2 separate regions of the Homo sapiens genome follow, and region 2 is linked to region 1. Evidence: promoter capture Hi-C in 16 types of primary human blood cells and fetal thymus (Javierre and others, 2016). All regions are on one chromosome and are shown on one strand. The core of a region is centred on a gene start or on the middle of the fragment in contact, and the rest is flanking DNA. Distances in the headings are between cores, read along the strand shown. Region 1 holds the start of DCAF4L1 (DDB1 and CUL4 associated factor 4 like 1). Region 2 overlaps GUF1 (GTP binding elongation factor GUF1).

Region 1 (7,462 bases), core at 3,704-6,203:
ATTTTTAAGTAACTTTTATTTTTTCTTCCTTTCTTTTAGTTCCTTTTTTTTTTCTTGCAAGTAGGAAGCAGGAATGACTGTTCAATTATTAGATATTCAAGTTTAGAATTCACTGTCATTACTGCACAATTCATTTGCTGAAATAACAAGTAGCAGATGCTACAGTGCAAGTTAATGAATAATTCTTATTTGTACTCTGGCCTTTCATTGCAATTCATTTGTTACAGACATGTGGGTTTAGTAATTATTATTCTCACACTTTCTAAAATGTTTTTAGCTTTTTAAAAAGCATTTTGCTCATTTTTTTATTTCCTTCTGTTTGTTTCATTCTATTTATTAAATTCTCCCATTTATCCCAATTGTTTGGGAAGTCTCATGGCTCTTTATGGTTCTCTTCTGAGAGGAATATGAAATACTTCAATTGATTTGTTCCTTATTGCAAATAAGCCAAAGCCATGGCTCATTTACCATTACCGGGTTTGTTTACCATTTCACAGGCACACTTGAGGCCTCAGCTTTCAAGGGCATGTTTTCAGCCTGTTACAAACCATGCTTGGCCTTCCTTCTCTAAAGTCTGCTCCTTCCTAACCAGGAAACAGGGCAGGAATGGAATTTTCTTCCCATTCCAGTTTCTCTTTAGCTGCTTGTGTCCAGAAGTTGATATGGCATAGCTAAAATTAATACCTGAATTGACCCAGTTCACCTTCTGTTTTAGAAACAACAACAACAAAAAAATTGGCTAAAAAGTAAAGGCCTGGGTATTTTTAGAAAGAGCAATAATTAGTGTAAAATGTCACAGAAATATAATACGTTTAGATTCATGTCAGACAAAAGTTATTTCCAGGAAGCTTCTCAAAGACAAGAAAAGGGATGTTGGAGATATTGGGAAAAAGTATAGTGAAATTGGTAAGAATAAATAAGCTGCAGTGAAGCCTATCTGAAGCATTTGGAATATGACTTTGCAAGAGGCTCAGAATAGAATAGAGTAGGAATCTATCCCTGTTTATCTTTTTACCTCCCTATCCGTCTTGTATAGATATTGGAGTAAAAAGATGAGGAATGTTGCCTCTTGTTCCTCTCTCTGTGACTCACAACAGTGATGCTAAAGTGAGGAAGTGGCTTCAGACATGAACAGAGGTGGGGGATGGGAAAAACGGTCAGTATTAAGAGGCATGTGGCATGTGTGAAGATTTAGGAATTTAAAACACACACACACATGGTGGAAGCTGGTAAGCCTTGCCTTTTATACACAGTTCTGAATTTTAACTCTGAGGAGAGGAGTTTTTTGGGGTATAATTCTCTGTCGTAAGAGGCTGCCCTATGTGTTGTAGGATGTTTAGCAGCATCTCCAGCCTCAACCCACTCGATGCCAGTAGTATCCAGTTGTGACAGCTAAAAATGTCTCCAGATATTGCCAACAGTTGTCCCAGGATGAGAACCACTGCTGCAAAGGTCACACGATGTGGTTGGGCAGGGTGAGTATGGGACCTTGAGCTGGGGTAAGACCTGAGGGGCAGAGTTGTGAGAGTTATGGGGAACGTTTCCAATTTCTTCTATGGAGAAATGGGAAGAGATGGTGGATGAAGGAAATGGAGTGGCATGGTGGGAATGGAGTATGTAAATTCCTAAAAGAGAAGGAAAGAATCCTAAAGGCTGAAATAATTTTTTAAGACAGTAGATAAAAAGTCATGTAGCATTTAAGGAGACTTATTTTTTCTAGAAGGTTGATTTATATGTTTATTGAGAGGGAAGGAAAGTTAGTTAATCAGAAAAGAAGGGGGAGGTGGGGATGGTAAATGAGTTAAAAAAAAAAAAAAGTTAAATAATGAATAGGACTGGCCAGGCGTGGTGGCTCATGCCTGTAATCCCAGCACTTTGGGAGGCCGAGGCAGGCGGATCACAAGGTCAGGAGTTCGAGACCAGTGTGTCCAATATGGTGAAACCCCATCTCTATTAAAAATACAAAAATTAGCCTGGCATGGTAGCGGGAGCCTGTAGTCCCAGCTACTCGGGAGGCTGAGGCAGGAGAATCACTTGAACCCAGGAAGCAGAGGTTACAATGAGCCGAGATCGCACGACTGCACTCCAGCCTGAGCAACAGAGCAAGACACACACACACACAAAAAAAAACACAAAACACAAAAAACGAATAGGACCTACTATTTGATAGCACAACGGGGTGATCATGGTCAATAGTAACTTAATTGTATGTTTTAAAATAACTTAAAGAGTGTAATTGGATTGTTTGTAACTCAAAGGATAAATGGTTAAGGGAATGGATACCCCATTTACCCTGATGTGCTTATTTCACATTACATGCCTGTATCAAAACATCTCGTGTACCCCATAAATATATACACCTACTATATATCCACGGGAATTAAAAATTGAAAAAAAGAAGTGGAAATAGATTGAAAGCTCTCCCTGTAGAGTAGAAGTTGGATAGATTTTGCAGAAATAACCTTAATCCCTTATTCCTCTCAGTGAAGGAGCCTATGAAATAAAGGAGAATTAAACATGTAGTTCTTATAATTTTCATTCCTTCATTCACTTATCTATATCCTATGTCCCATGTACTATATTATACACTAGACAGTAAGGATAGAAAGATGGATAAGAAACAATCCCTGTCTAAAGATGTCCACAGTATACTAGGGTAGACAAAGATGTGTAATCAGTTTGATTGAGAATCTCACCTCAAGAGGCATAAGCTTGAAAGTCTCATCATTTCTACACTTGGTATTTTGTCAGATTTCATTGCTTCAAAGTATCAGCCTCCTTAGTTATTAAAACTTTCATTCTAGGTATTAAGATTAGGTCCTACTGATTTAAAATATTAGTCTCATATTTATTTCAAAAACTTCCTCCATGCCTTCCAGAGCAGACTAGACCCGTAGTTCCAACTTTCTTTATACACACCCCTTTTTTTCCATGTGCCTGCTCTTCCGATGGTGGGGTCAGGAGGTTTAAGAAGGAAAACAGGCAATGCCTTAAATGTCTGACTGCCGCCATGTTGCTATCTGCTTTCTGTAGGTCATTGTTAGAATATATGGGGTTCCTAACAGCCCCACTGATAACTCAGTATCAAGCAGTCCTCTATGCTTTGATAGCCCTTTGCAAGACTTCTGCATCTGTCAGCTGACTTCCATTTGGCAGTGGTGAAACACATTCTTCTGATACATAGAAATCCCTTGTCCCATGTTATGTTCCATGGCAAGTGTGTGGGCCTCAATCTCCTGTGCTCTCTGTGATCCCAGCTCTGGGGCCTGTAGATTCCGACAGGATCCATAGTCCAGATATCACCGGATTTCTCTGTAGTCCCTACCAACTCTCCCCAGTCCTCCAAAATTCCTGGAAATTCATAGCGTAAGGGGAGTCAGCAAGCTTTGTGGCAAAGGAAACATCCAGATGGGGACTGGAGATATCAGCCTCCTCTTGAAGACACCCCAAAACTTTACTAGTATCATGTAATAGGTACTAATGTCCTGAACAGAACATGAAAGACACTAACCATTAATGAAACAAATGGACAATTTGGATAAATTCATAATTTATTTACTTATTTTTCTTTCTTTTTGAGACAGGGTCTTATTCTGTCTCCCAGCTGGGCTGGAGTGCAGTGGGGTGATCACTGCAGCCTCAACTTTCAGGGCTCAGGTGATTTTCCCTCCAAGACTCCTAGGCTCAAGTGATTTTCCCTCCCAGTCTCCTGAGTAGCTGGGTCTACAGGTGTGCACCATACCCCGCTAATTTTTGTATTTTATTTATTTATTTATTTTTTGAGACAGAGTCTTGCTCTGTTGCCCAGGCTAGAATGCAGTGGCGCGATCTCGGCTCACTGCAAGCTCCGCCTCCCGGGTTCACGCCATTCTCTTGCCTCAGCCTCCAGAGTAGCTGGGTCTACAGGCGCCCGCCACGATGCCCGGCTAATTTTTTTAATTGTTGGTAGAGACGGGGTTTCACCGTGTTAGCCGGGATGGTCTCAATCTCTTGACCTCGTGATCCGCCTGCCTGCGCCTCCCAAAGTGCTGGGATTACAGGCGTGAGCCACTGCGCCCGGCCTAATCTTTGTATTTTTTTAGAGACAAAGTTTCACCATGCCGCCCAGGCTGGTCTCTAACTGTATTTTAAAAATACAGGCGGCCGGGCGCAGTGGCTCACGCTTGTAATCCCGGAACTTTAGGAGGCTGAGGCGGGCCGATCATGAGGTCAGCAGATCGAGACCATCTGGCTAACACGGTGAAACCCTGTCTCTACTAAAAATACAAAAAAAATTAGCCAGGCGTGGTGGCGGGCGCCTGTAGTCCCAGCCACTTGGGAGGCTGAGGCAGGAGAATGGCGTGAACGTGGGAGGCAGAGCTTGCAGTGAACCGAGATCGCGCCACTGTACTCCAGCCTGGCCGACAGAGCGAGACTCCGTCTTAAAATAAAAAATAAAAAAATAAGAAATACAGGCAGGGCGCGTGGGCTCATGCTTGTAATCCCAGCACTTTGGGAGGCTGAGGCGGACAGGCTGCTTGAGCTCAAGAGTTCCAGACTAGCATCGGCAAAGCAGGGAGACCCCATCTTTACAAAAAAAGTAGCCTGGCATGGTGTTGTGAGCCCATAGTCCCAGCTAAGTAGGGCAGAGGTAGGAGAATCACTTGAGCCCAGGAGTTCCAGGCTGCAGTGAGCCGTGGTCGTGCCACTGGACTCCAGCCTGGGTGAAAGAGCAAGACCCTGTCTCAAAAAGAGAAAGGAAAAAATTTAACATCAAGAACTTCCTTTCATCAAGACACCACTGAGAGAATACGACAACCCACAGAGTAGGAAAAGAGATTTGTAATACACATCTGTAACAATGGACTTCCTCCTAGAATAGAGAGGATAAAAAGTAGCAACACTTCCGCTTGCACCCGGACGGAACTTCCTGTCACGGAAAAGAACATCCTGTCACGGAGAAGAACATCCTGCAGAATTTCCTGTCACGAGGAACATTCCGCAGGAGGAAATGGAGGCTGAAAGGCTGCGACTCCTCGAGGAAGAGGCCAAGCTGAAAAAGGTAGCCAGAATGGGATTTAATGCATCTTCCATGCTCCGAAAAAGCCAGCTAGGTTTCCTCAACGTCACCAGTTACTCCCGTTTAGCCAACGAGCTGCGTGTGAGCTGCATGGAGCGGAAAAAGGTCCAAATTCGGAGCTTGGATCCCTCCTCTTTGGCGAGCGACCGATTTAACTTCATTCTGGCGAGTACCAACAGCGACCAGCTCTTCGTAGTGAACCAGGTCGAAGTCGAAGGCTCCAAGTACGGCATCATCAGCCTGCGAACTCTGAAGATCCCTTCGTTCCACGTGTACGTGCTCAGAAACCTCTACGTCCCCAACCGGAAGGTGAAGTCCCTGTGCTGGGCCTCGCTGAACCAGTTGGACTCTCACGTTCTGCTGTGCTTCGAGGGAATCACAGATGCTCCAAGCTGTGCAGTGCTGCTCCCAGCGTCGCGGTTCTTAAGTGTTCACACAAGAGTTAACCAGCCTGGCATGCTCTGCAGTTTCCAGATCCCAGAGGCCTGGTCCTGTGCGTGGTCCCTCAACACCCGGGCATATCACTGCTTTAGTGCAGGCTTGTCTCAGCAGGTCCTGTTGACCAGCGTGGCGACGGGACACCAGCAGTCATTTGATACCAGCAGTGATGTCTTGGCCCAGCAGTTTGCTAGTACGGCTCCTTTGCTGTTTAATGGCTGTCGCTCCGGGGAGATCTTTGCCATTGATCTGCGTTGTAGAAATCGAGGCAAGGGGTGGAGGGCCACTCGCCTGTTCCATGACTCAGCAGTGACCTCTGTGCAAATCCTCCAAGAAGAGCAATGCCTGATGGCATCAGACATGACTGGAAAGATCAAGCTGTGGGATCTGAGGGCCACTAAATGTGTAAGGCAGTACGAAGGTCACGTGAATGAGTCCGCCTATCTGCCCCTGCATGTGCACGAGGAAGAGGGAATCGTGGTGGCAGTGGGCCAGGACTGCTACACGAGAATCTGGAGCCTCCATGATGCCCACCTGCTCAGAACCATCCCTTCCCCGTACTCTGCCTCCGAGGACGACATTCCCAGCGTGGCCTTCGCTTCTCGGCTCGGGGGCATCCGGGGAGCAGCACCAGGGCTGCTCATGGCTGTCCGGCAGGACCTTTATTGTTTCCCCTTCAGCTAATTCTGCAGGTGGCAGCGCGGCCGAATGTGGATTTGACTTAAGGAAGTTAAGAGTATCTTATTACCGTTTCTGTGAGAGCATTTTAAGAGACGTGTTGTATATAGATCGCATCCATCCGGCTGCCAGGGGTAAGGTGTTAAGAGTTTTATGTGGAGACGTTCTTGTAAAGTTATTTCAGTTAAACTGTGGACTTAACTTGAAAGTCCTTTTCATAAAAGGTACCTGTTTCCTCTTGTTGAATGCCTTAGAACAGTTAACCACCTCCCCAACCCTTTTTTTTTTTAAATAATTAAGACTTTTCTAAGGACTGAAGATTGGCAAAAACTAAAATAAATTAAAGCAGCTTCTTTCACTAGTAGCCCTTTAGAGAAGCATAATGATGGTACTGGTAAGACTGTTTGACTAATCATACAGGGTCCCAGGCATCTGCGCTTGAGGAAGCCAGTGGGAGTGGAGACAAGGGAGAGGTAATTTCTCAGAGTCTCTACAGAAATATTTAAGGCTGGAGTTTGGAATCATTAAATTTGGCCTTCTCAAACTCAATAGCAGATCTCTTAAGGTTCTCCTTTTATTGTTATCATCCATAGGCATTGGAAGGAAAGATGGATCTTTTTAAATACTAGAAGTTTTAAACAGTCCTTGATGTGCTTTTGTTGAGGTACCTTTCAGAATGTAAGGTACAGCAGCTCCGGTTTCTATTATGGTGACTTGAAGTTCAGATTCAAGGAATTGGCTTTGACTTTTTGTAATCTAGGAGCAGCAGTTTGTGAGAGATTTATTAAAAATGTTAAAGAGCCTGTTTTTCTACTAAGCAAGGAAGAAAAAAAACGTGTAATAAGGTTAGTTGCTACTTCTTAATAGCCAAAGCCTGGAAATGATCTGAATTTCGAAAATGCTAAAATTCGTGATATAATCATACAATCGGATACTGCATAATAATAGAAAATAAGGCACACTTGCTATGTGAAACAGTATGGACCAATCTCAACATGTTGACTGAAATTAGGTAGAAATGAGTACAAACTGTATGATTCAATTCTAAAGTTCAAAAGCAGTAAAAACTTGTCTATGGTGATTAAAGGTAGAGTAGTACGTACCTCTGTAGAAAGAAAGGATTTTTTTTTCTTTTTCTTTTTAGGATGTTTGAGAAGTGACATGGGGAAGCTTTAGGAATGCTGAGTTTTCTTTATCTTGACACTTGATACATACGTAATTCATATATCTATATGCTTCACGTTTTTATAGTTTACTGTATATATGTTATTCCTCAAAAAATAAAAA
Region 2 (7,462 bases), core at 3,629-6,128, 2.7 Mb after region 1:
AATTAATTTAGAATCTTAATTTTAAAATCTGCATTGCTTTAATTATATTTCTTGATAATGGAGTTAAGTTTAAAAGAAGGCCATAGGTAAGACAGCTTGTTGTCAGACTTAATGTTGTATTTAACTTAACCTTTAAAATCAGTTCACATGCTGCTTAATTGATAAATTACTACTGATCTCTTCTGCTGCCCTGGGTAGCTAACTGCTTAAGTTTTTTTTGCAAGCTCTGCTACTTAACTTCTCTTTTTCAATCATGGTTATTAAATTATACTGCTAATATATAGATTATTTTACTGCTTTTGAAAAAATATTGTAGAGGGGTCAGTTAGGTTAAAGTGGGTAAGCTTTTAATTACCTCCGAATACTGTTAATACATAATACATCTTATCTTTATTATACTTCACATAATGGATTTTTTTTTTTAAAGATAGATCTGAAGAATGCTGATCCTGAAAGGGTTGAAAACCAAATTGAGAAAGTGTTTGATATTCCAAGTGATGAATGTATTAAGGTAAAATACGTTCCTAAAAAGATTATACTTTGAAAAAAGTCTCAAGTAATTGGGCTAAGTGAAATTTCATGGTATTTGATAACCTGGCATTATATGCTGTTTTTTATAGTTTTACAAACTTCTTTTACTATTATTTCCTTTGATCCTTATCAAAAGCCCTTTTTATATTGTTAGGACATACAGAAATTATTGCGATGCTGTAGTTAAAGGAACTGAGGCTCAAAGGTTTTATCACTTTCCTAAGATCACAGGTTTAGTTAGCCAATGTGCCAGGACTAAAACACAGGCCTTCTGAAACTCCCTGCAGTATTTCTTGTGTGTCAGTTTGCCCAGTGGAAATACTGTCTTTGAAGAGCAGGTTCAAACTAATTTCAGGGCTTTTGTATGTATCATTCTTGGAACTGACAAAAACCTATTTTATAAAAAGCTAGTTGTAGTGCTAGGAAACAATAGATTTTATTTATACCAAAGTTGCTACCATTTTAAATTTGAATTTTTATTTACCTTTGAAATGATGATCTGCTTGTTAAACAGCCACAGCCAAACTGCTATACTACATGGTAGTGTAAAGTATGTCAGCACAGCAATGTAATGTTTTTCTTTCAAGCTAATTTAATTTTCAAAAGAGCAAGTTATATATGGTTTTATATTTTGGATTATGTTATATTAAAATACAATTAACTATTCTGATTTTAATCTTAATAAAATTCATTCAGATTCTTATTTGGTATATGCCAGCTAAGAGTATGGCAGTGAATAAGACAGACAAGACCCCTTCCTTTCTGCAGACAGTCAATAAATAAGTAAACAAAGAAGTAAGCATAGGAATTATTGACTAGGATAGAGATTGTCAAGGAAATTCATTCGACAAATTGTTATTATTCTAGGTGAAATACCATCATTAACAGTGAAAAGTCTTTTTTCTTAGAGAGACGTTATGACATGGAATAACTTAGCAAAAGCGTCTCTGATAAACTGAAACGTGGAGGAATGAATAATTTTCAGAAAAACATTCCAGGAAGAGAAAAGAGCATGTGTAAAGGACTTAAATTAGGAAAAGATTTGGCATGTTTACTGATCAGAAAGGTTGATTGGATGAGAAGGCTTTGTAGGGGTATGCAGGAATCAAGTCATGCTGGGACTCGTGCTGTGCTGAAGAGCTTGAAAATTATTCTAAGACAATGGAAGGATTTTAAAGCAAGAGAAACAAATTAACCAGTCATTCAGGTAGCCTTACAGAGAATGGATCAAAGAGGTATAAGAAGAGATACAGGGAATCCAGCTATTAATGGTAGCCCAGATGTGAAATTACTATGGCTCAGTATTAACTATCCATATGAAAAGGAGATTATGATCCAGGAGGAAACAATATACATAAAACATAACAGTTCATTGCTAAACTGAGCACTGTCTACAAACCTCCATTTCATACTTTAAAATTAATAAAGAACCTTAATTTTAAAATCTGCATTGCATTAAATGATGTTTCTTGATTTGGAGATAAGTATATAAGAAGCACAGCTGCCCATAGGCAAGATAGCTTGTTGTCAGATACAAGAAACGAACCAGACCATTTATTTGATTTCTTTTTTCCAGTAATGTTAAGCTGTTCTGTATATGGGCATAGAAAAAACACATAATTGGATGCAGTCAAGGTTGAGGTTTTGTCAGCTGCCTCTAATAAGAAGAGAACAGAAAGTGGTTGAACCAGAGTGAATGTAAATGATGGATCTTGGAGTCCCATCTGGGAAAAGATAGAAACAGAGTGGAGGGTGAAGCTGATGGACAGCATCAAGTAGTATATTCAATAGTTACAAGTTAAGGACTATTGTAAAGAAAGTACTACAGTCTAGAGCAGTAGTTGTCAGTGGTGGGTGGTTTTGCCCCTGGGCAAATATTTGGAGATATTTTTGGTTTTCACATCTTGGGAGGGATGCTACCAGCATCTTGTGGGTAAATGAGGTGCCCTGGTTGCTGCTGAACATCCTGTAATGCACAGGACAGCCTCCCAAAACAAAGAATTATCTGGCCCAAAATGTCAGTAGGGCTGAAACTGAGAAATCCTAGTCTAGAGTGAATGTGAAGAGTAAGAAGTTTGAAGTCAGGATTTCAGAGATAGTCCATTTATTACCAGTGATAAAGGTCAGTCATACCATGTGGCTTGAGTGTTGGCTTGCTTTTCTGGTGTGAGAACACTAAAGTAGTAGTAAGATGCCTTATGGTTTTATGCCATCCACATACATTGTTTATCCACACAACAACCTTGAGATTTAGGCAGAATATGAATAATCACTTCATTTTTTAGATGATGAAATTTATGCTCAAAGAGATAGATACTGGTGAAATACATGGATTCAATGCAAAGACATGATTGTTACCCAGATTTCGAACTATTCCTCTTTCAATACCATAATTAGGACTCTCTTGTAATTCCATTCTAGAACTGTAGAACTACGTAACTATAATAGAAAAAGTATTTGTCAATATACTGTTTGCTTTGTTCTTTTCCTTTTGGTGTATTTCTCAAATTGATAACTATTGGAATTTTTTTTTCCTTCTGATCATAAGTCACAGGTCATCAAGATAGAAAAGTATAGTCTTAACTTTAAATGCTTATATTTTTCACATGTATCTTTTTAGATTTCTGCTAAACTTGGAACAAATGTTGAGAGTGTTCTTCAGGCAATTATTGAAAGAATCCCCCCGTGAGTATTTGGTGATTTTTGTACTAGTTGTCTCTATTTAATAGTTCAAAAACTGTCCATGTTTAATAGTTCAAAGACTGTCAGCTTGAACTGTTATTTTAGCTTAATGGATGTGGCAAATATTCTTGCAGGCAGCGAGAATAAATTTATTTGCTTTTAGTAATACATAGAAGGCAAGTACAGTAAAGTAAAAGAAAAAGTAAAGATGATTGATAGAGGTCTTTTCATGACAATCATTATAAAATATACCTCAGTACATTGGCAGTTATTTTCCTTTGCTTTAAGCTGAACAAATATATTCATAAATAATTTGTTAAAACTAGAGGTTATTAAATCTAATATATTTTATAAAAAGGTCTTTTTATTTAGGCTGTTGTGTATCAAACTTTCTCAAGAACTCAAGTACAATATCTAAGTTGAAAATAAGAATTTTATTAAGATTTTAATTTAGTGTATATATATTTACTTTTTACTTATATTTACTAGTCCTAAAGTGCATCGCAAAAATCCTCTGAGAGCTTTGGTATTTGACTCCACCTTTGACCAGTATAGAGGTGTGATAGCCAATGTAGCATTATTTGACGGAGTGGTTTCCAAAGGAGATAAAATTGTATCTGCACATACTCAAAAGACATACGAAGTTAATGAAGTAGGAGTCTTGAATCCTAATGAGCAGCCAACTCATAAATTGTAAGTAATCTGCATTAGTAAAATTAAAATGCATTTGTATGTGGTTCTATTTCTGCATTTTTCTCAACTTGGTATGCTTAGAATGATCCTCATTTGGTAACTTAAAAAAAACTATTTAATGCAACTATACAGTAAATGCTCTGTCAAGGAATCTCATGGGAAGGACAATAGAAACGTCAGTTGATACTTTTTTTATTCTAAATGACTAGTTATAACTAGATTTATGATCAAGGGTAGATTGGATCCTATATCGATGTATTTGATGAGACAATGAAAGAGTTAGTTCCCTCCACCCATATCCATATTAGGTATCATTTTTGACATTTCTTCATAACTAGATTTTCCAATGTAAAGGTGGTATAATAGAAACCTTAATAAATCTTTAGTGTGGAATTCATGGTAAAACCTTGATTAAAATTCTTGGGGAGTAGGATTAGCAAGGGTAGTGTGCATTAGAAAAACATCTGAATTGACTTGTAAAAGAACTATTTATTGAGTGCCTACTCCGTATCAGGTACTGATGAGGCATGACCTTGGGTACATAATTTGAGCTTTGTAAGGTCCTGTTCCTTGTCTGTAGAAATTATTGAACCAGATGACTGTCAGATCACATTTGAGTGTTTAGTGTTATATGTCTAAAAACAGCACTATATTGAGTCAGAAAGTCTATTTTTATTTTACTGAAATATTTTAACATCTATTTATATTCTGCCATATATACCAAACATTATCACATCTTCATTTAAGGTTCTTAAAGCTCATTCTAAGTGTAAATCATTTTAGTTTTGTAGGGATTTTTTTTTTTAACTAAGCTTAAACTGAACTCATAGGATTTGCTCTTTTGCTACAGGAGGAATATCAAGTGTCCAGTTTGTTGAGAGTTCACATTTTTCTTGGATAAAAATTTACCTTTTTTTCCTTTGTTAAAGAACATTTTCAACACAATTCATTAATAAAAGACATCACAAGTGTACTTATTATAATGCTTTTGTACTTACTAGTTTCACTGTATTTACATATATTTTAGAAACTGCTGTTTAAATTGCAAAGGTTGGCAGAATCATGAAAAAGGCATTAGGTTTATAAGTAGAGAGGTCTAATGGATTGTAAGACCTGGTGTGTTCATTTGCTGACAAGCTTCAGAGTTTGATAATTGATATGTAGCACTTATTTTCAAAGTGTATGGAAAGTTTGGAAAGTGTATGATAGTTTCCTGGGAAGGTAGAACTAATTGTGAGTTATGTGCTTGAAACATTAAAGCAGTAAATATTTGCATATAATAATTTTATTTAGATATGCAGGACAGGTGGGCTATCTGATTGCTGGGATGAAAGATGTCACTGAAGCGCAAATAGGAGATACATTATGTTTACATAAGCAACCAGTGGAGCCCTTGCCTGGGTTTAAATCAGCGAAACCAATGGTATTTGCAGGTGAGGAGTTCACAAATTCAAAGGTTGAGGGCCATGATATTTTTAAACTAAAAGTCTGTCTCAGTGGTTAAGGAAAAAATACACATTCTGGTTATTTTAAATAACCACTAATTCCAGCATATTGTTTCACTTTGTGCTGTTTATCAGTTTATAATTACATATGTGTGATGAAATTATATGTGGGAGATCATTTAGGATGTGTTAAGAAATAAGTTCTTGAGGAAGAAGCTGTGATATATAGGATACAGTAATATAAATTTCTTTCTTATTTTTCTAGGGAGTTCATTATTATATTTGAAACATTTTTCTAATTAGGATGTTCTTATTAGTAATTATCAGTAGACACTGACTGAGTGCCTTCATCTTCGATAGACTTTCTTTAATATTGTACTGTACTAATGTAGATATGACAGAATGGTGTTGCCTCAAGTACGTATAATTTCAGAATCTTTTACTTCATTTACTTTGGAAAAAGGAAGACCTGATTGAAGGTCATCAGGTTACTCTGTGCTGAGTATCTAGCCCTTAATTTTTGCCCTACAGTCTCTCTCACTGGGAATTAGGAACTTTGTTTACCCCTACCTTTAGGCAAAGTCAGTCATGTGGATTTTAGAGGACTTCAGAGGTGTCAGATGAAAGAGAATCAGTAGTGATTCCCATAGTTTTTGTCAGTAAATACCAAAAAGCAAAATTTAACTATGGTTTTAAGTAGATAATCTGCCTTAGAGAATTGAGAGTGCAGTATAGTTTTCATGTCTACTTCTATTTTTATCCAATAATAAAGTTTCATTTGGGTTGTGGAATGTCTTGTGCTTTTGTTTTTGAAATTACACTGTGTTTTCTTAATAGGCCTAATTCCCATGTTTTTTTTTTTCTTTTCCCTGTATTTTTTCAAAAACATTAAAAACATTATTTGGAGTGCAAATCTAGTTGTATATTCTTTCAGACTAATGACTTGTAAGATACTTTGAAACCAAATAATCATTCATTTTTAGCAAACCAATATTTTGGTCAATAAAATACAAGAAAGTAATTTAAAAGGTAAATGACTAATTTGGAACTTGGCAGCACTACACATGTGGTTTGATAGGTCTGTAGGCAGCTTATCACGTGATAATTAGAAATCATTGTATCCCCAGGAATGTATCCTCTAGACCAATCTGAATATAACAATCTGAAGAGTGCTATAGAAAAACTGACTTTAAATGATTCCAGTGTGACCGTTCATCGGGATAGTAGCCTTGCTCTGGGTGCTGGCTGGAGGTAAGATTCATTCACATGTGTTTTATAGGAAAGGGAGGTGTAAATGGTGTATTTTAAAAATATTTTTATAGGAAAGGGAGGTTTTTAAAAAATATCTTTATAAGTAAGGGAGGTATAAAATGGTGCATTGTTCTGGAACATTTACTGAAAATAAGTTTATATTAGTGTAAAGTGAACGAAAACAATTTTTATCTGCCTGTTTCACGTTGCGGATTGACATTTTATGGGTAAGTTTTATAGTGATTTAAAATAGATTCCCAATGGAAGATTTTAATCTTATTTAATAAAATTATGCTAGCATTTAATTATATTGTGAATTGTTTGAATGACTTAATTCCATCCCTCCCTTAAAGTAACAATATGTTCATTAAAAAAAAAAAAAATGAAGCCCATGGGACATAAACATTTTGGAGTTTGTCTTTTCCTCCCCCAGGCTAGGATTTCTTGGACTTTTGCACATGGAAGTTTTCAACCAGCGACTGGAGCAAGAATATAATGCTTCTGTTATTTTAACAACCCCTACTGTTCCATATAAAGCTGTACTGTCATCATCAAAATTGATAAAGGTACTTGGTATTTAGTACTGGTATTTAGTACTGTTTTGCATTAGTCTCTTGGAAAAAATAAATGTGTGTATATACAATGCAGGAGAAGCTTTTTACTATACCAATAGCTGATTAAGTATTAAACAAAATATTTATTGATTAGTAGTAATAAACATTGAATTACCCTATGGCTAATGATGAAGAACTTTTTTGAAAACTAATTTATGCAATATTTTTCTTAACCTGATGTAATCTCCAGATTATCAAAACTAGTCTATTGCTGATAGTAAAAGGTAAAATTAGTAGTGAAAATAA

The links. The method cuts DNA at HindIII sites, captures the fragments that hold promoters and counts their contacts. A CHiCAGO score of 5 or more calls a contact.
Region 2: a contact is called between a fragment that was not itself captured here and the fragment with the promoter of DCAF4L1 in region 1, in 1 of 17 cell types (non-activated CD4 T cells). The highest score is 7.2, in non-activated CD4 T cells.

Annotation. Positions count from the first base shown.
Region 1 is chr4:41,976,803-41,984,264 of GRCh38, forward strand. DCAF4L1 (DDB1 and CUL4 associated factor 4 like 1) reads left to right here and starts at 4,954. Exons shown (of 1, transcript NM_001029955.4): 1 at 4,954-7,462. The coding sequence starts at 4,991. The coding sequence ends at 6,181. RefSeq lists enhancers at 4,685-5,884, 5,444-6,216. The HindIII fragment of the contact is 3,961 bases long and covers 3,383-7,343 here.
Region 2 is chr4:44,682,808-44,690,269 of GRCh38, forward strand. It overlaps GUF1 (GTP binding elongation factor GUF1), which reads left to right. Exons shown (of 17, transcript NM_021927.3): 6 at 428-511; 7 at 3,152-3,216; 8 at 3,703-3,906; 9 at 5,200-5,339; 10 at 6,479-6,602; 11 at 7,036-7,168. Among named protein-coding and RNA genes, the nearest start is that of GUF1, 8.1 kb to the left of the region's middle. The HindIII fragment of the contact is 325 bases long and covers 4,717-5,041 here.